7 separate regions of the Homo sapiens genome follow, and all the other regions are linked to region 1. Evidence: promoter capture Hi-C in 16 types of primary human blood cells and fetal thymus (Javierre and others, 2016). All regions are on one chromosome and are shown on one strand. The core of a region is centred on a gene start or on the middle of the fragment in contact, and the rest is flanking DNA. Distances in the headings are between cores, read along the strand shown.

Region 1 (2,781 bases), core at 94-2,593:
GGTTTTTATATTTTAGAACCATAGGCTTTTTTTTTTTTCAAGTCTCAAACATTTTCATAAGCAGCGTGCTATGGTGCTAGTGACTAAAACATTTCTGCCTACAGGGACTGGAAGTAGGAAAACAAGGAGGCAGTGCCAGTGGCGACCAGAAATTTGCACACCAGGTACAAAGGGTATTTGTCCTCAGCTCCAGCAGAGTTTCTTTTTTTTCTCTGCAACCATGTAAGGTTCTTCTAATGCAAAAGAAAAAAAAATCTGTCACATCTAAGGACCTTGAAAAGTTTTGTTTCCCTTGAGGAATTTGATATGCTTTTTCCTTATCATTCAGAAACATCAGTGTATAGTATGTTTTCCCAGTCTGCATTGCGCCCAGTAAGTTTCAAGCCAAAATTTCTGTTTAATTTTGGAACAATAGAAACTCCTGATCGGCACATTAAAAATTTTCTTTGATCTTGATCTTCCATACCCGTTGCTGCCTTTTATTTAATTTTACATTTCCTCTTGATTATATATCTTCCAAGCTGATTAAAATTTTCTACTAGCCAAAAGGAGTTTGAGCGAACAAAAATATTTACAGAGCCATCAGCCATCTATGAGAATACCTTTTTCTTGGCATTCCACACACTGCCAGGTGTTATTTGAAAAGTCTTTACTGATGTAATAAACCAGAAATGGTTTCTCATTGGGGTTTTATTTTGTATTTCTAAGATTACAGGTGAGAGTGAACATTTTCCCATATTTGTTAACCAGGTTTAAAACTGTTTGATTGGGACGTGGCTTATACAGGGACAAATGCAGCTAAGCCGACTGAAAGACAAATGAAACCCAGGAATATCTGGTTCTTACATTTTAGCTTTGACTCCGCCCCTGGGTCCCCTCACCTACCCGGACCCCAAGCAAGCCCTTTGTGTGTGTCAACCATCAGTGAATGGGATCTCAATCTGAAAAGCTGGCAGAATACCGTCTTGCCCCCAAATATGTGTATTATGCGTATATCCAGTGTCTGATTGCAATGTTTATGGGAAAAAGTTCCTGAATCCTAACCAAGACTGAGGCACTGGCCGTCCCCGGGAGTCTTTCCGCAGGCGCGGCCTCTGACACTCGGTCTTCGATTGGCCCGCCTGGCCCCGCAGGAGTCGGGGTGACGCCGGCCAGCCCAGAGCGGACGATGAGAGCTAGGAGTGGCTGCTTCTGCCTTTCTCTCCCCCTACTTTTTTTTTTTTAGCCATAGCTATGGTTACCACGTTTCTCTCCGCCTCCCGCCACCTACCAAGAAAACGACTGACCATTGGCTGCCTTTCACCAAGGCGGTAAGTCATTGGTCTCTGGTGGGACCGGGCGCTGCCCCCTTCCCCTGTCTCCTGGGTCTCTGGAGGAGCCCAGGAAGGAGGCTCCGCTGGTTCCGCTGGGTCAGGCGCTGACGGGACCGGGCTGCGGCAATCGTTAGCGGGTCATGTCGGCCGCCCAGGGCTGGGACAGGAACCGCCGGAGGGGAGGAGGCGCCGCCGGCGCTGGTGGCGGAGGTAGCGGGGCCGGCGGGGGCAGTGGGGGCAGCGGGGGTCGGGGGACTGGCCAGCTCAACCGCTTCGTGCAACTCTCCGGGCGGCCGCACCTGCCAGGTGAGTCGTGGGACAGGGTCCTGACCGCTTGCGGGCGGGAAGGTGACTGCTACCTTTTCTTTTTCTCCCTGGCTTGCTTTTCCTTGGGAGGAGGAAAGGCAGGCCCCACGCATAGCAGAGGGACTGGGGATCAGAGAAAAGGGAAGGTGTCTTTGAGGTCAGGGAGGGAACAGGAGCACAGCGAAGAAAAGTATCTGTGCTCTGTTGAAAGCTCTGTGCTGAGAGTTGTGTTTTCTTTTCAAAGGAGAGGCCACTGTCTCATTGACATTTCCAAATGTTTCGGTTACTCGATTCCCAATCTCTTCCCCTTCCGCAGTTTGATCTTGTAAATGAAAGACATTGGCGCCTAGCTGTGGGAAATTATTTCAAAAAGGGTGCCAAGTTAAGGAGAGAAGAAGGAAACGCATTCCAAGGAGTGATTTTGTAAAAACTACACGGGGCGTGTGTGTAAGAGGCATTCTGAAACGGAAGAAAGGGGTGGGGGAGTGTTGGCTGGGGAGTGTATGGGAAAGAGAACCTAGAGGATTAGGGAAAACTAGTTGGATTATTAATATTTTGGAATGTTCAGAGACAGGATAATGGTGTCTAGGTTTTAAGGGGAGAAAGTGAAGATCAAAAATATACTTAGTGACACAATTATGCTGTGTTTACAATATAAAAACAACTGAGAATTGGAAAAATGTACCCAATACAATTATTTGACATTTTGGTCTACAGTGCCCTAGCCTTGAGTTCAGATGCTTTTGAAAACAAAATAAAATCAAGTGGATATGTATGTGTAGACAATTTTAAAGAGGTATGTTTGTAATTGAATATTCAATCTAGTAGAAGGAAGGTAGGGAATTAAATAATGCAGAGAACGTCAAATATCCCACTGGGCAAGCTTATTTTTACTATGAAAAGAACTATCAGGAATGATGTGTTAATTATTCATCGTGTTTTTTGTGAATAATATTGATTATATTAGTGATATATTTGTTTAGCTGATGAGTTTTGAGAACATGATGAATTGGTTTTTATGAATTGTGCTTAAGACTGTACCTTATACTTCTAGTCAAAAATTATTATTTGATTAAATTGAAGATGACAAAGGGAATTTAGCACATTTAATGAGACAATTGCTTATGTTCGTGATGAGGTTGTTGATGTGTGCTAGAAATGT
Region 2 (2,947 bases), core at 230-2,729, 620 kb after region 1:
TCATTTCTAACTGTTTATAAAATAGAAACGGCTACCTTTATGGAAGTATTGGTATGGAAAGTAAGGAAGTGTGGAAAGAAGCATCTACCCTTCATGAAAAAAGGTAGTGGCACAGAATGCCAAGCAAGGGTAGTTTGCCCCATTTTTGTCTTCTTTCATTCTTTCTTTTTCTTTCTTTCTTTCTTCTTCTTTCTTTCTTTCTTTCTTTCTTTCTTTCTTTCTTTCTTTCCTTCTTTCTTTCTTTCTTTCTTTCTTTCTTTCTTTCCTTCTCTCTCTCTCTCTCTCTCTCTCTCTCTCTCTCTCTCTCTCTCTTTCTTTCTGTCTTTCTTTCTTGCATTTTCAGACAGGGTCTCATTCTGTTACCCAGGCTGAAGTGCAGTGGCATCATCATAGGTCACTGCAGCTTCAAACTCCTGGGCTCAGGCACCCACCCACCTCAGCCTCCTGAGTAGCTGGGACTACAGGCATGCACCACCATGCCCAGCTTTTTTTTTTTTTTTTTTAAAGAGACATGGTCTCACTGTGTTGCCCAGGCTGGTCTTGAAATCCTGGCCTCAAACAATCTTCCTCTCTCAGCCTCCCAAAGTGCTGGGATTACAGGCATGAGCTACTATACCTAGCCACTCTTCCTTCCTTCTTTCCTTTCTCTCCTTCCTTCCTTCCTTCTTTCCTTCCTTCTTTCTTTCCTTTTTTTTTTTTTTTTTTTTTTTTGATGGAGTCTTGCTGTGTCACCCAGGCTGGAGTGCAGTGGCATGATCTCGGCTCACTGCAAGCTCCACCTCCTGGGTTCACACCATTCTCCTGTCTCAGCCTCCCAAGTAGCTGGGACTACAGGCACCCACTACCACGCCTGGCTAATTTTTTGTATTTTTTTAGTAGAGGTAGGGTTTCACCGTGTTAGCCAGGATGGTCTCGATCTCCTGACCTCGTGATCTGCCCTCGGCCTCCCAAAGTCCTGGTATTATAGGCGTGAGCCACTGTGCCCGGCCCACTCTTTCTTTCTTAAACAGCCTGCTGGTGACACATGAAGCTCTTGCTTTCTTGAGGAGAGGCCTATCATTTATCAGTGGCTGGGTAAATCTTTCCAGTTCAGGGGGATGTTTTAGGAAGCCCAATGTATGTTCAGGCCCCAGCCAGTCTCCAAACCAACTTCTAGCAGAAAGCTGATATTCTGAACTTACCAGATTTTTGCATGTGTTTACTAACTGCTTCAGAACCGGTAAGGGAAAGAGATGTAATTGGCACCTCAAATATTACTTTTGCACCAACCTAAATCAACATCCTGACTACAGTGAATGCTACAACTGTTATTTTACATAGTCTACATAGACTCAGATACCAGAGAATATGTAAGTAGGAATTTGAGAAAGTTATCTCCCCAGCAAAGCAAAAAATGAAAGCCAGATAGAAACTGGGGACTGGGCAGGGAGGTTTGCCTAGCAACCTGCCCTCCATCTCTGGTAAGAAAGCAGGAGCAGAGTTTATAAATTCATTAATCTCATGTATTGACCAACACCAAGACTCAACAAAGCTAGCATTATTCAGAGATGAATGAATGGAAAATGATTTTTAGGGCTAATGCATTTTATGAGGAGTAGAATATAGCAGCAGCAATAGCTGCTCTGGCAAGAATAGGGAGCTAAGAAGCTGCCAGAAGTGGAGGAATACAGAGAAGAGCAGGAGGCTGGGAATCTGGGAATTAGGAATCAAGGCCATCCAATTTTTCTGTAGATTTGTCTATTAAAAATGTGGGGAAATCTACTTACGAAAGTGGAAGCTGTCTCTCCACTCAGTACTTACATTCAATTTAGCACTGGAGTGTCAGGAAAATGGGGACCAAAGGAGAAACAAAACTGGGTGGGGGGGAAATGAGGTTTTAAATGTACAAGATGGACAGCAAGGGATAGAAGGTGGTCTCAGGAAAAACTCTGGGACTGAAGATGCCCAACATGGCAAATTTCTGAATGTTTCCAACATGGCGGGATGATACATGAAGGAGCAGTGGATATGCATCCCCATTCAGACATTCTCTGCCGACAGCAGTGAGAAATCCCATGTCTTCTCCTCCTCTTTTTTTTTAACTTTTATTTTAAGTTCAGGGGTACATGTGCAGGATGTGCAGGCTTGTTACATAGGTAAACATGTGTCATGGAGGTTTGTTGTACAGATTATTTCATCACCCAGATATTAAGCCTAGTATCCATTAGTTATTTTTCCTGATCCTCTCCCTTCTCCCACCTTCCACCCTCTGATAGGCCCCAGTGTGTGTTGTTTCCCTCTGTGTGTCCATGTGTTTTTATCATTTAGCTCCCACTCATAAGTGAGAACATACTGTTTTTGGTTTCCTGTTTCTGTGTTAGTTTCCTAAGGATGATGGCCTCCAGCCTCATCTATTTCCCTGCAAAGGACATGATCCCATTCTTTTTCATGACTGCATAATATTCCATGGTGTATATGTACCACATTTTCTTTATCCAGTCTATCACTGATGGGCATTTAGGTGGATTCCATGTCTTTGCTATTATGAATAGTGCCACAATGAACATGTATGTGCATGTGTCTTTATAATAGAACGATTTATATTCCTTTGGGTATATACCTGGTAATGACATTGCTGGATCAAATGGTATTTCTGTCTTTAGGTCTTTGAGGACAGTGTATAAGCATTCCTTTTTCTCCACAATCTTGCCAGAATCTGTTATTTTGTGACTTTTTAGTAATAACCATTCTGACTGGTGTGAGATGATATCTCATTGTGGTTTTAATTTGCATTTATCTAATGCTAAGTGATGTTGAATTTAGTAAACAGACAACCTACAGAATGGGAGAAAATTTTTGCAAACTGAAAATTATGCATCTGACAAAGGCATAATACCCAGAATCTATAAGGAACTTAATATACAAGAAAAAACAAACAATCCCATTAGCTGGGCATGGTGGTGCGTGC
Region 3 (2,897 bases), core at 177-2,676, 640 kb after region 1:
CCGCCACCATGCCTGGCTAATTTTGTATTTTTAGTAGAGACGGGGTTTCACCATGGTGGCCAGGCTGGTCTCCAACTCCTGACCTCAGGTGATCCTCCCACCTTGGCTTCCCAAAGTGGTGAGAGTACAGGCATGAGCCACCACGCTGGGCCTCCCCTTACATTTTTTTTTTTTTTTTTTTTGAGATGGAGTCTCACTCTTGTTGCCCAGGCTGGAGCGCAGTGGCGCAATCTTGGCTCACTGCAACCTCCGCCTTCCTGCCGAGTTCAAGCGATTCTCCTGCCTCAGCTCCCATCCCCTTGCATTCCTTTTTTTTTTTTTTTTTTTTTTTTTTTTTTATGACAGAGTTTCGCTCTTGTTGCCCAGGCTGGAGTGCAATGGTGCGATCTCGGCTCACCGCAACCTCTGCCTCCTGGGTTCCAGTGATTCTCCTGCCTCAGACTCCTGAGTAGCTGGGATTACAGGCTCCCACCACCGCGCCCGGCTAATTTTGTATTTTTAGTAGAGACAAGGTCTCCATGTTGGTCGGGCTGGTCTCGAACTCCCAACCTCAGGTGATCTGCTCGTCTCGGACTCCCAAAGTGCTGGGATTACAGGCATGAGCCACCGTGCCGGGCCACATTCTTACAGAGAAAGTATCTTCAAGAGAAATAATGTTTCTTACAAACCTTAACGAGTCAAAGATCATCGTGTGTCAATCAGCAATTAGAAAGTAATAAATGTCAGCTCTAAGAGTCTGAAATATGGCCCCCAAAGCAGGAGGTTCTTACTAAAGGTCAAGGCAGCACTGACTGGCTGTCAGAGGCAGGGACAGCTACTTACAATTTAAGATTAGCAAGCCCCTAAAAATAAGGAAAGTATTTTCTCTTCCTTCCCATCCTCCTGTTCCTTATTTGTTTAGGAGAGTGTGGGTAGGGAAAAGATAATGTTGTCTGATATTTGTAGCAATGATTGGTATGTGCAATTTCAAAGAGAGGCCAGATGCTAATGTTTGTAATAACCAAATAGCAGGCATGTCACCTGTTTGATTTGCCAATTTTAATAAGTCCTGTGCTTTAATTTGTAAGGGTAATTTGAGTAATTATAAATATGTAAAAATAGACTCATTAAACATTCTGGGGAATCAAAGGGCTGAATCTCTGCCCCTACTTATTTATGATATATTCATATTTTTTCAATGGGTCAGTAGTTTACTATGATATATGGGAGCCTAAAGCTTGGGGGGTAGACACTCCCGTTTTCCAACTGGTAGACACTAGTCTACCCCCCAAGCTTTAAAAGTAAACAACTACTTCAGGATGGCACATGCCACTGAAAGGTCAGTAGGGTGCTATGGCAGATTCTCTCAATTTTCTACCAAAAATATATATCCTCCCTTTATTCTCTGCAAAGCAAACCTCAGTTTTCTACAGGGAGGCATCAGGATATGGACCACAATGAGATTAAGTTCATTACAACAATCCTTTAAGCATTTTCCCATACTTTCTTGCAGCTAGAGATGGTTATGTGAACCAGTACTGGCCCTTGAGAAGTGAAAGAAAATGCCACTCATCACTTGGAATGGGTAGGAACAATTCTGGAAAGCTTTTGCTTTCTGAGTAAAATGGAGAGATGCCAGTGGTTCCAGCTTACTTTCTATTTTTTTTTTTTGAGATGGGGTCTTGCTATGTTTCCCAGGCTTGTCTCAAACTCCTGGGCCCAAGTGACCCTCCCACCCCAGCTTCCCAAGTAGCTGGGATTACTTGTGCACTGTGGCTCAAATTATACCTTACCTTTCTTCCTGCTTTAAACATGAGTAAGATGCCTAGAGCTGGCCCTATTGTTCTGTGGCCACGATATGGCAGAATAAGAGATGCTGAACCTGCCAGTATAGAGTGAACTGAACAAATCACAGCAGCACTTTCCTCCAAATTTCTTGTTATATAAGAAAAATAAAACTCTATTTGTTAAGTTACTGTAGGGTTTTCTGTTGCTTCCAGCCAAAGCAATTGTATCTAATACAGGTGCTTTAGCAGAATTAAAGGATTTCAACATATGTATCTTTCTCACTAGGGAGACAGAAGCTTCTAACGTCTTCTCCCCCTAGGATCCAGATCCTACGTTGGCTCTGTGAGATGGCCAAGGATACTCTAAATACTAATAGGACCTAGACAGGGGACTACATTCTCTCTTTTATGAAGGTCAAACAGTTTTAAGTATAAAATGCTAGCATACAATAGTAATCACACTCCAGTTTCCAACTGGGAGATAAAAAGACTGGCCTCTATCCTTAGAACCCAATTTATTTTTTAATTTAATTTAATTTAATTTAATTTTTTTTTTGTTGAGACAAAGTCTTTCTCTGTCACCCAGGCTGGAGTACAGTGGTGTGATCTTGGCTCACTGCAACCTCTGCCTCCCAGGTTCAAGCGATTCTCCTGCCTCAGCCTCCTGAGTAGCTGTGACTACGGACGTGCCCTACCATGCCAAGCTAATTTTTTGTATTTTTAGTAGAGACAGGGTTTCACCATGTTGGCCAGGCTGGTCTCGAACTCCTGACCTCAGGTGATCCACCGACCTTGGCCTCCCAAAGTGCTGGGATTAGAGACATAAGCCACCATGCTTGGCCCTTAGTACCCAATTTAAATTTGCCTGGAGTTCCAAGTTGAGGACCATGGAAAATCTGTATGGGACTAAGGATGCTGGATTCTCCCTTCCCCTACAGCAACCATTCCTAGTAAAATTTGATCTGTGATCTGTGCTAAGAGTGCCCTGGGGACAGGTGCATTAGGGTGGTGCCTCTCAGAGAGGCAGTTAGTACAGCAGCATAGTCTGGGCACATACTCAATAGCTTGGTGGTCCAGAAAGAAGAGAACAACTTTTGCCCTAGGTGACCACAGTAACTGCAACCTCATCCT
Region 4 (2,728 bases), core at 140-2,639, 760 kb after region 1:
AGCCTCCCGAGTAGCTGGGACTATAGGCGTGTGCTACCACGCCTGGCTAATTTTTGTATTTTTAGTAGAGAGGGGATTTCACCATTTTGGTCAGGCTGGTCTCAAACTCCTGACCACAGGTGATCTGGCTGCCTCATCCTCCCAAAGTGCTGGGATTACAGGCCTGAGCCACCGCACTCAGCTGAGTTTTTTTTTAATGAATGTACTCCTGGTTGTTTTTTTGTTGTTGTTGAGACAGAGTCTCGCTTTGTCGCCCAGGCTGGAGTGCAGTGGCGCGATCTCGGCTCACTGCAAGCTCCGCCTCCCAGGTTTACGCCATTCTCCTGCCTCAGCCTCCTGAGTAGCTGGGACTACAGGTGCCCGCCACCACGCCCAGCTCATTTTTTGTATTTTTAGTAGAGACGGGGTTTCACCGTGTTAACCAGGGTGGTCTCGATCTCCTGACCTCGTGATCCGCCCGCCTTGGCCTCCCAAAGTGCTGAGATTACAGGCATGAGCCACTGCGCCCAGCTCCTGGTTGTTTTTTTACTCTTCTCTTGACATACTTCTCACACACTGCAGTCTGTTGCATAAAAGGAATTACATGGTTTTGAATTACAGATAAAGATGGACATTGTCTATGTGGTAAATACGTGGTAGTTTCTGGGTGTCTTTTTATATGCTTCATATGAAAAATGATCGTACGTAAAACTGTCTCTTTCAGAAGGAACATAATCTGGACCATTCAGATACACCGAAATTCAGCTGTTTTCTACATCATCTGTGTGGGTGTAGCTAAAATATGAGCTTTTAAGCTTAAAAACAACTTCTGCATGTTATTTGGAAATATTTTTTACTGAATTTCTCAACCACCCCAAAACTTAAAGGGCAAATTTAAAATATGCATTTAATGCCTTAGTATTTTAGAGTATAGCCTTCAACAAAGTCCTTTGAGCCTCACTGTAAAAAATATTGACTTTTTATTATAAGTCTTGTGTCCCATGTCCTTGCTAATTCATTATTTCTAATCGTCCATCTGTTGATTCTTTTTAATTTTCTGCTTATACAATTGTATCATTTTTGAATTATGAAACAGATATTTCCTAAATTCCATCTGCTGTTTCTGTTGGACCCCTGTTCCGTTGCTTTGCTGTGAAATAGCAAGTGCCTTCAAGGAAAAAGGCAGTAAACATGAGGTTGGCCTCACTGGTCTCAGGTATCACAGTTCCTCAAATCCTGTCTTAGTTACATGCTCTCCAAAAATTTAAAACAGTTTTTTAATGTATATGGTATATCTTTTACAGTTGTTTTCTGTAGGACATTTATAATCTTGATATAAACTATTCCATCATGGCTGGACCAAAATGCAGCCTGACTTTTTCCTTTGTTTGTAAACTTTATTTTCTGTTTACATGCTGATAGAATTTATTCTTTGCTCTTAAAATTTAATATTAACCAAGAAACATATAGGGCCTTCCATTATTTGCTTCATGGGCATCCTTTCAATATGCAGTTTCAGGTCTTTATTCAGTTTTTATTTAATATTCATCAAATATTATTCCATTTATTTTGTTCATAACTCAGTAAAAATAGCCACAATTAAAGAGCAATCCTTTGTAGTTTCATCAGTAAGACCAACATCTGCCTGCCTTTGCCATCCTTGGTTGAAGGATCTCTCCTCTGGATCAGACCCATTTCTTCCCTTGTGAATTAATCTATTAATCTCCTTTGTCTTCAGTTCACTCCTGCCTACTCAACAGCATCAGCAAATAAACACACCCAAGTATCTCCCATCTTAAGAGAAGAAAAATCTGCCCTTCCCACAGGACTCCGCCCAGGCTCCATCTCACTTTTTGTTCCCTATCAGAGTAAAACTTATGGAAATTCTCTTTCTTTCTTTTTTCTTTCTTTCTCTCTCTCTCTCTTCTTTTCTTTTCTTTTTTCTTCATTCTCCTCCATTCTCTCTTCAACTTCCTCAATCTGGCTTTCCCCTCCCTAACTCCATTAAAGCTTTTCTGGTCAAAGCTACTGATAGCCTCCATGTTAAAATACTGTCAATACTCACGTCTCACTCGACCTCTCAAAAGCACTCAAAATATGTTTTTCCTTTGGCTCTAGTGACCACACGTTTGTCTGTCTTTTCACCTATTTCCACATCTTTTTTTCTATTTAAATTCCCTGTCTAGACCGGGTGTGGTGGCTCATGCCTGTAATCCCAGCACTTTGGGAGGCCGAGGCGGGTGGATCACCTGAGGTCAGGAGTTTGAGACCAGCCTGGCCAACATGGCAAAACCCCGTTTCTACTAAAAATACAAAAATTAGCTGGGTGTGGTGGCGCATGCCTGTAGTCCCAGCTACTTGGGAGGCTGAGGCAGGAGAATCATTTAAACCTGGGAGGCAGCGGTTGCAGTGAGCCAAGATCGCGCCACTGCACTCCAGCCTGGGTGACAGAGCGAAACTCCCTCTCAAGAAAAATAAATAAATAAATAAATAAATAAATAAATTCCCTCTCTAGATGATCTAATCTGGTCCCTCGACTTAAATATCACTTATATGCTAGTGACTCCCAAATGTAGACATTTTTAGCTCTGGGCATTCCCTTGAGAAATGGGGTTGCCTCTCTAGTAGTTCATCTAACATATGCACGTGGATGTCAAATGGATTTGAAAGCTAAGACAGCAAAAATTAACTTCCTTCCCTCTCTGCAAGCCTGTTCTCATTTGCCCCCATTTCAGTAAACAGCCTCATC
Region 5 (2,700 bases), core at 167-2,666, 740 kb after region 1:
ATTTTCTTCATTTGTTTTGATTGTTTATTTGGGTGTGAGTGGTCATGACTGCTAAGTTATCAATGTGGAATGGCATGTTTGCCTCATTTAATGTCCTTTGTCTTCAGTTTCCCATTGCCTGATATTAAAGTCTCTGCATTCTCTTTATTTAATTTGCCATGTATGAATCACCCTGTCCTCTTATTTTTCAAGTTTATGAGTAACTTTGTTTTAGGTGTGTTCTTTATAAATGATTTTACTTTCTGATCCAATGTGAGTATTGTTTTCTTATAATGGCACAGTTATCTCACATATTTTGGTTATTGACATAATACACTAAGTCATTTTTTACCTTATAATTGGATTTATATTGAATTCCCACTTTGAAAAATGAGGAAATAAGTATAATTCGACACCTCACCTCCCTATCCTTCCTTCACACCTAGGTTTGGCTACCCAATATTATTGTCATATCTTTAAATAATAGGCTAATATTTCTCATATTGATTTATCAGCTTTGAACTATGTCAACTCTTTATTATAGAAGATGAGGAAACTGGCATATTTACACTCACTACCTCCTACCTTTGCTAAGGTAATTAATAAGTATATCTAATAGAGATATATAAAATTCCACACCTGAAAGCCAAGCATACATCTTGTTTTTAAGTGCCCATGATTAGTTTCCAAAATTGATTAGCTACTAAGCTACAAGTAAAATGTCAATCCATAGTAAAAAAAAAATTGCAGTATCACAGCTTCTGCTCATAATACAATAAAGCTGGACATGAGAGTATCAGATCTAGAAAATTCATAGTCCTAAATACTAATGTAGATGAACAACAAAGAATAAAAATAAGTTCATGGCAGCATTTTTCATAACAGTCAAAAGGTGGGAAAAACCCATATGTCCATTAACTAATGAATGGATAAACAAAATGTAGTATAATCATACAATGAAATATTATTCAGCCATAAGGAGGAATGAAGTATTTATACACGCTACAACATGGATTACACTAAATGAAAAAAGCCAGATATATAAGGCTACTTATTATATGATTTCCTTTATATGAAAGCTCCTGAATTAACTATTTATGACTTTTCCATAAATCTATAATCCATAAATCCATAGAGATGGAAAGTAGATTAGTGGTTGCCAGTGCATGGGAGAGAGGGATAAATGGGAAGTTACTATTAATGGGTACAGAGTTTCTTTTGGGAGTGATGAAAATATTTTGAAACTAGATTGTGGTGGTAATTGCACAATTTGGTGAACATACTAAAAATCAGCAAATTATACACTTTAAAATTCACAGACTTTGTCTGTGAATTATCAGTCAGTATAAAAAGTGATATACTTCTTCCATATTCTCTTGGTCCACTCTTGATACAGTTACCCAAAGGTAAATACCAGAAGGCAGGAAGCATTTGAGGACTGTTTTGGAGGCTGGCTACCACATATATCTTTAAAAATGTATGTCCTGTTGGCCAGGCGCCATGGCTCACGCCTGTAATCCCAGCACTTTGGGAGGCTGAGGTGGGTGGATCACAAGGTCAGGAGTTCGAGACCAGCCTGGCCAATATGGTGAAACCCCATCTCTACTAAAAATAACAAAAATTAGCTGGGCGTGCTGGCGGGAGCCTGTAGTCCCAGCTACTTGGGAGGCTGAGGCAGGAGAATCTCTTGAACCCGGGAGGCAGAGCTTGCAGTGAGCCGAGATCTGCCATGCACTCCAGCCTGGATGACAGAGCGAGACTCTGTCTCAAAAAAAACAAAACAAAACAAAAAAACTATGTCCTATTATACCCTACACTTCTCCCATGTCAAATAGCTTCAACTGGATGCAGCTACTAACATCTGTATACTTAGCTCCATTCATTGGACAATCCAAGGCCACATTTCATAGCTAATTTTCTTTTTTTTTCTATTTCAAGTCTCATGTTTTACATGACTTTTCTTTTGTTGCTACCTAGTATTTATATATATATATATATATATATATATATATATATATATATATATATATATATATATATATATACTTTAAGATCTGGGATACATGTGCAGAACGCGCAGGTGTGTTACATAGGTATACATGTGCCATGGGGGTTTGCTGCACCCATCAACCCATCGTATACATTAGGTATTTCTTCTAGTGCTATCTCCTCCCCAGCGCCCCACTCCACAACAGGCCCCAGTGTGTGATGATCCCCTCCCTGTGTCTATGTGTTCTCATTGTTCAACTCCCACTTATGAGTGAGAACATGTGGTGTTTGATTTTCTGTTCCTGTGTTAGTTTGCTGCAAATGATGGTTTCCAGCTTCATCCGTGTCCCTGCAAAGGACATGAACTGATCCTTTTTTATGGCTGCATAGTATTCTATGGTGTATATGTGTCACATTTTCTTAATCTAGTCTATCATTGATGGGCATTTGGGTTGGTTCCAAGTCTTTGTTATTGGGAACAGTGCTGCAATAAACGTACGTGTGCATGTGTCTTTATAGTAGCATGATTTATAATCCTTTGGGTATACCCAGTAATGGGATTGCTGTGTCAAATGGTATTTCTGGTTCTAGATCCTTGAGGTATCGCCACACTGTTTTCCACAATGGTTGAACTAATTTACACTCCCACCAACAGTGTAAAAGCGTTCCTGTTTCTCCACACCCTCTCCAGCATCTGTTGTTTCCTGACTTTTTAATGATCGCCATTCTAAC
Region 6 (2,930 bases), core at 187-2,686, 710 kb after region 1:
TTTTATTGGTGGTAATCCCTCCCCGATCTCCATCCCTTTTCTCCTCCTCCTCCTCTTTTTCTTGTTGTTGTTCTTCCTCCTCCTCCACTTCTTTTTCTTGTTGTTGTTTTTCTTCCTCCTCCTCCTACCCTTCTTCCCCTTCCCCTCCTCCTCCTCTTCCTCCTCCTCATCCTCCTTCAACAACTCCTCCTTCTCCTCCTTCTCCTTTCTTTCTTGGCTGAGCACAGTGGTTCACGGCTATAATCCCAGCACTTTGGAGACCAAGGCAGGAGGATTGCTTCAGGCCAGGGGTTCAAGACCAGCCTGGGCAACATAGGGAGACCACATCTCTATAAAAAAAAATTTTTAAAGTAGCCAGGCATGGTGGTATGCACCTGTGGTCCTGACTACATGGGAGGCTGAGGTGGGAGGATTGCTTGAGCCTGGGAGGTCAAGTCTGCAGTGAGCTGTGATTACACTACCATATTCCAGCCTGAGCAACAGAGCAAGACCCCCATTTCTAATAAATAAATTATTTAGGTGGCAAATTTAGAATTCCAGTCCAAAATGTACTTTTTGTAAAACTTTTTCTTTGGAAATAAAGATTCACAGAAAGTTGCAAAAATAGTGTACAGAGATCTGATGTACCCCTCAACCAGTTTTGTTCAATAGTTAGATCTTATCTAACTACAGTATAATAGCAAAGCCAGGAAATTGACATTGTTACAATGTGTGTATATAGTTTTATGCCATTTGTCACAAGAGTAGCTTCCTTTAACCACTGCTGCAATCAAGGTGCAGAGCTATCCCCCTCACCACAAAGACCTCCCTCATGCTACTTTTCTGTGTCACATCCACTCCACTCCCTACCGTCTTTTAGCCTTGACAACCACTAATTTGTTCTCCAACCCTATGATTTTTGTCATTTTCAGAATTTTACATAAGTGGAATCATACAGTATGTGACCTTTTGAGGCTGCCTTTTAAAAAAGACTCAATATAATGCCCTGAAACCCCATTTAAATTGTAAATGAACAAAAGTTCATTTACTTTTTATTGCTGAGAAGTATTCCAAGGTATGATGTACTAAAGTTTGTTTAACTATTCACCTATTGAAGTACATTTTTGTTTTTTTCTAGGTTTTCACTAGTACAAATAAAGTTTTTATGAACAATCATGGAAATCATGCACAGGTTTTTGTGTGAAGTTAAGTTTTCATTTCTTTGGGATAAATGCCTGGGAATGTGATTGCTGGGTCATATGGTAAATGTACATACAGTTGGCCCTCCATATCCGTGGGTTCTACATCAATGAATTCAGCCAACCATGGATCAAAAATATTTTGGGAAAAAACATAAAAATAACAATACAACAATAGGAAATAATATAAATTTTAGAAAATACAGTATGTCAACTATTGAAATAGCATTTGCATTGTATTAGGTATTGTAAATAATCTAGAGATGATTTAAAGTATGAGAGGATATATGTAAGTTATATGCAAATACTCCACCATTTTATTTTCTATTCTAACCAGGCCCAACCCTGATTCTAAGATCAGATAAGATGCGCCATTTTATATAAGGGACTTGAGCATCCATGGATTTTGATATCTGCAGGGGGACCTGAAACCAATCCCTTAAGGATAATAAGGGTCAACTGTATAGTTTTTGAAGAAACTGCTGAATTGTTTTCTAGAGTTGCTCTACCATTTTGCATTCCCACCAGCAATGTATGAGAAATCCAGTCTCTCTGCATCTTTGTCACCATTTGATGTTATTACTATTTCTTTTTATTTTGCTGTATTAATAGGTACATGGTGATATCTCGTAATGGTATTTATTTTTAATTCTCCAATGAATAGTGATGTTGGACATCTCTTAATATGCTTTTTGCATCCATGTGCTCTCTTCAGTAAAATATCTCTTCATGTCATTTGTCCATTTTCTAATTGGGTGCCTTCTTTACTGTTGAATTTTGAGAATGCTTTAACTATTTTAAGCATGAGTCTTTCATCAGATATGTGGTTTGCAAATAACTTCTTTTAGTTTTCAGTTTGTCTCTTTATTATCTGAACAGTGTCTTTCACAGAGCAAAAGTTATTATTTTTGATGGCATCCAGTTTATCAATTTTTTTCTTTTATGGATCATGCTTTTGGTGCCATGTCTAAGAATTCTTCCCCGAGTCCTAAGTACTGCAGATTTTTTCCCATTCTTTTTTTCTAAAAGGTATATAGTTTTATATTTAATATTTAATTTATTATCAGTTTTGAATTAACTTTTGTATAAGCTGTGAGGTTTTGGTTGAGGTTATCTTTTTGCATATGGAGATCCAATTGCCCCCACATTATTTGATGAAAAGAGTATCCTTTCATCACTAAATTGCTTTTGTATCCTCAAAAGTTAGTTGTTAGTGGGTTCTGTATTCTCTTTCATTGATCTATGTGTCTATCTCTCTGCCAGTAACACACATCTGGATTACTTTATCTGTATAATGTCTTAAATGGAGTAGAGTACTTTCCTTCAATTTATTCTTGTTTTTCACAGTTATTTTAGCCATTCTACTTCTTTGACTTTCCATATAAATTTTGGAATAACTTACAAAAAATATTTCTGGGATATTTATAGGAATTGTATTAAACCTGTATATCCATCTGAGAAGAGGTGACATCTTTACTATATTGAGTCTTTCATTCTGTGAACATGGTGTGTCTCTCAATTTATATTTACTTTGATTTCTTTTATTAGTGTTTTATAGTTTTTAGCATACAATTTAATGCTATGTTTTATAAAAGCAATGCTGTATTTTGTTAGTTCGCATGTACCTCCCTTTTTTGTGGAATTGTAAATGGTATTGTATTTCTAATTTTGGTTTCCATGTGGTCATTGCTAGTATGTAGAAATACAATTAATTTCTTTTGCAGACAAGTATTCTTTATGAATATTGATGTT
Region 7 (2,726 bases), core at 210-2,709, 790 kb after region 1:
CCAAGGACACCCAGACTCAGCTCCAGCCCCTCCTGCTGTAGACAAGAAACTAGCTTATTTGTGCAGAAACTTGCTGGGTGATATAAACCCCTCTGAGCTGAGACTGGGCTCTCCAGTCTCTCATAGCACATTCCATGGGGCCCAGTCTCAGCTCTAGCCCCTACTGCTTCAGTCTAGGAACTACCCCACTCATACAGGGACCAGCTGGGTGATGCATGTTCATCTGAGACAATGAGATAGGCCCACCAGCTCCTTCTCACAGCTGATCCTGAAGTGGTCCAGTCTCAACTCCATCTCCTCTTGCTGCAGTTGAGAAATGCAGAGATCTGCTGGGAGACACACTTGTCTGGGCCACAAGGACAGTTTTCTGGACTCAGGTCCCTCAGTCCAGTATCTGCCTGGGGTCTTCTCTAGGTCCATCTGGGCTGGAAAGCCATGTCAACCTCAGAGTCCTCATGAAACTCACGGCAAGCCTGGGCTTGGAGTGTCCTCTAGTGCTGAGATATCTGGCTGCAGTGGTCACAGGCTCAGGGAACACAACAGTCAGTCAGCTTAGAATCCGAAAGGCCCTCTGAAGGACAGGCACAAACAAAGCCAGAATGCAAAGACTAAAATAAATACCTAATTCCTAAATATGTAGACATTGTTGTACTTCTACAGGCATCAAAAACATTCAGGGAAATATGACCTCACAAATGAGGTAAAACAAGGTGCCAGCGACCAACCCTACAGTGATAGAGATGTGTGATCTCTCATACAAATAATTCAAAATAGCTGCTTTAAGGAGACTCAATGAAATTCCAGAAAACAGAAAATCAATTCAGAAATGTATCAGAAAAATTTAATAGAGACATTGAAAAAATTTTAAAAATCAAAAAATCCTGGAGCTGAAAAATACAATGAATGAAATGAAAAATGCAATATAGAGCATCAATGGCAGAAGTAATCAGTGACAGATTATTTGGATATACACAGAGGAAAAAAAAAGGAATAAAAATAATGAAAAAAGCTTACAATATGTATGAGACAACATCAAAAAAGAAAATATTCATTATTGGAGTTAAAGAGGGAACTGAGAAAGACAAAGGGGTAGAAAGCTTCTTCAGAGAAATAATAGAAAGCTTTCCAACCCTGGAGAAAGATACAAATACCAAAGCCAGGAAGATCAAAGATCACCAATCAGATTCAACCCAAATAAGAATATCCCAAGACATATTACATCGAACTTGCAAAAATGAAAGACAAAGAGAGGATTCTAAAAGCAGCAAGAGAAAAGAGGCAAATAACATATAAGGGAGATCCAATACTCCTGGCATCAGACTTCTCAGCAGAAACTTTTCAGGCCAGGAGGGAGATGATAATATTCAGAGTGTTGTAGGAAAAAAATGGCCAACCAAGAATACTGTATCAAAAAAAGTTCTTCAGAAATGGAGAGATAAAGACTATCCCAGACGGACTTTATATTTATAGCAACCAGAACTGTCCCACAAAAAATGCTAAAGGAAATTCTTCAAACTGAAAGAAAAGGACTCTAACGTAATTATTATAGTAATATTGTAATTGTGATAAACCACTTATATCTTTGGCCAAAAGACTGAAAGTCAAAACTATTAAAATAATTTTGAAAATAATTTGTTAAGAGACAGGCAATAAAAAAGGGTAATTGGTGACATCAAAAACTGTAAATGTGGAGGAAGAAGGGAGTTAACCTGTTTGGGTTGTTTCTTTGCTTTTTTATGATCAAAATTAAGTTGGCATCAGTTTTAAATACCTGTTATAACTGTAGGATTTGTTTTGTAAGCTTAACGGTAACTACAAAGCTAAAACCTATAACAGATAGACTAAAAATAAAAAGTAACAAAACATACTACCAGAGAAAAATCACTTAACCACAAAGAAAGACAAAGAAAGGAAGAGAGGAGTTACCTACAGCTAGTAAACAAGTAACAGTATGGCAGTAAGGCCTTATCTATCAATAGTAACATTGAATGTAAATGGACTGAATTCTCCAATTAAAAAAACAAAGAGTAGCTGCATGGATTAAAAAACAAGACCCAACAATATGCTGTCTACAAGAAACTCAATTCACCTGTAAAGATACACATAGACTGAAAGTGAAGGGATAGAAAGATGATATCCCATGCAATGGAAACCAAAAAAGAGCAGGAGTAACTATATGAGCTAAAATAGACTTTAAATTAAAAACTGTAAAAAGAGATAAATAGGGTTATTATATAATGATTAAGAGGTCAATTCAGCTAGAGGATATAACAATAGTAAATATATACACACCCAACACCAGAGTACCCAAATATACAAAGCAAATATTAATAGATCTGAAGGGAGAGATAGACTGCAATGCAGCAGTAAGAGGGGATTTCAGCATCCTACTTTTGACAATGGAAAGATCATTCAGGCAGAAAATCAACAAAGAAACATCAGAGTGAAACTGTACACCAAATGGACCTAACAGACATTTACAGAATATTTCACCCAACTGCTACAGAATACGCATTCTTCATCAGCACATGGAACATTCTCCAGGACAGACTATATGTTGGACCATGAAACAAGTCTCAACAAATACAAAAAAGTGGAAATTATATCAAGTATCTTTTCTGACCACAATAGAGTAAAACTATAAGTCAATAAAATGAGGAATGTTAAAAACTGTACAAATACATGGAAATTAAACAACATGTTTCCAGACAACCGGTTGGTCAGTG

What was found. The method cuts DNA at HindIII sites, captures the fragments that hold promoters and counts their contacts. A CHiCAGO score of 5 or more calls a contact.
Region 2: a contact is called between a fragment that was not itself captured here and the fragment with the promoter of KLHDC10 in region 1, in 8 of 17 cell types (megakaryocytes, endothelial precursors, M2 macrophages and 5 more). The highest score is 15.9, in megakaryocytes.
Region 3: a contact is called between a fragment that was not itself captured here and the fragment with the promoter of KLHDC10 in region 1, in 4 of 17 cell types (megakaryocytes, endothelial precursors, erythroblasts and 1 more). The highest score is 22.1, in megakaryocytes.
Region 4: a contact is called between a fragment that was not itself captured here and the fragment with the promoter of KLHDC10 in region 1, in 17 of 17 cell types (fetal thymus, total B cells, naive CD8 T cells and 14 more). The highest score is 46.7, in fetal thymus.
Region 5: a contact is called between a fragment that was not itself captured here and the fragment with the promoter of KLHDC10 in region 1, in 2 of 17 cell types (megakaryocytes and erythroblasts). The highest score is 6.5, in megakaryocytes.
Region 6: a contact is called between a fragment that was not itself captured here and the fragment with the promoter of KLHDC10 in region 1, in 1 of 17 cell types (megakaryocytes). The highest score is 6.6, in megakaryocytes.
Region 7: a fragment that was not itself captured here is called in contact with the fragment with the promoter of KLHDC10 in region 1 in 1 of 17 cell types (total B cells); the score reaches 5.3 in total B cells.

Annotation. Positions count from the first base shown.
Region 1 is chr7:130,069,191-130,071,971 of GRCh38, forward strand. KLHDC10 (kelch domain containing 10) reads left to right here and starts at 1,344. Exons shown (of 10, transcript NM_014997.4): 1 at 1,344-1,619. The coding sequence starts at 1,454. RefSeq lists enhancers at 859-1,058, 1,089-1,278 and a silencer at 1,379-1,548. The HindIII fragment of the contact is 10,740 bases long and covers 1-2,500 here.
Region 2 is chr7:130,690,170-130,693,116 of GRCh38, forward strand. No RefSeq gene overlaps it. Among named protein-coding and RNA genes, the nearest start is that of TSGA13, 5.1 kb to the left of the region's middle. The HindIII fragment of the contact is 3,861 bases long and covers 1-2,947 here.
Region 3 is chr7:130,713,652-130,716,548 of GRCh38, forward strand. No RefSeq gene overlaps it. Among named protein-coding and RNA genes, the nearest start is that of KLF14, 19 kb to the right of the region's middle. The HindIII fragment of the contact is 312 bases long and covers 1,271-1,582 here.
Region 4 is chr7:130,833,105-130,835,832 of GRCh38, forward strand. All of the region lies in intron 3 of LOC105375508 (a long non-coding RNA gene), which reads left to right. Among named protein-coding and RNA genes, the nearest start is that of MIR29A, 42 kb to the right of the region's middle. The HindIII fragment of the contact is 1,195 bases long and covers 793-1,987 here.
Region 5 is chr7:130,810,673-130,813,372 of GRCh38, forward strand. The region is part of intron 3 of LOC105375508 (a long non-coding RNA gene); the gene reads left to right. The region is part of intron 2 of LOC105375509 (a long non-coding RNA gene); the gene reads right to left. Among named protein-coding and RNA genes, the nearest start is that of MIR29A, 65 kb to the right of the region's middle. The HindIII fragment of the contact is 4,325 bases long and covers 1-2,700 here.
Region 6 is chr7:130,774,333-130,777,262 of GRCh38, forward strand. All of the region lies in intron 3 of LOC105375508 (a long non-coding RNA gene), which reads left to right. Among named protein-coding and RNA genes, the nearest start is that of KLF14, 42 kb to the left of the region's middle. The HindIII fragment of the contact is 7,695 bases long and covers 1-2,930 here.
Region 7 is chr7:130,856,120-130,858,845 of GRCh38, forward strand. No RefSeq gene overlaps it. Among named protein-coding and RNA genes, the nearest start is that of MIR29A, 19 kb to the right of the region's middle. The HindIII fragment of the contact is 680 bases long and covers 1,120-1,799 here.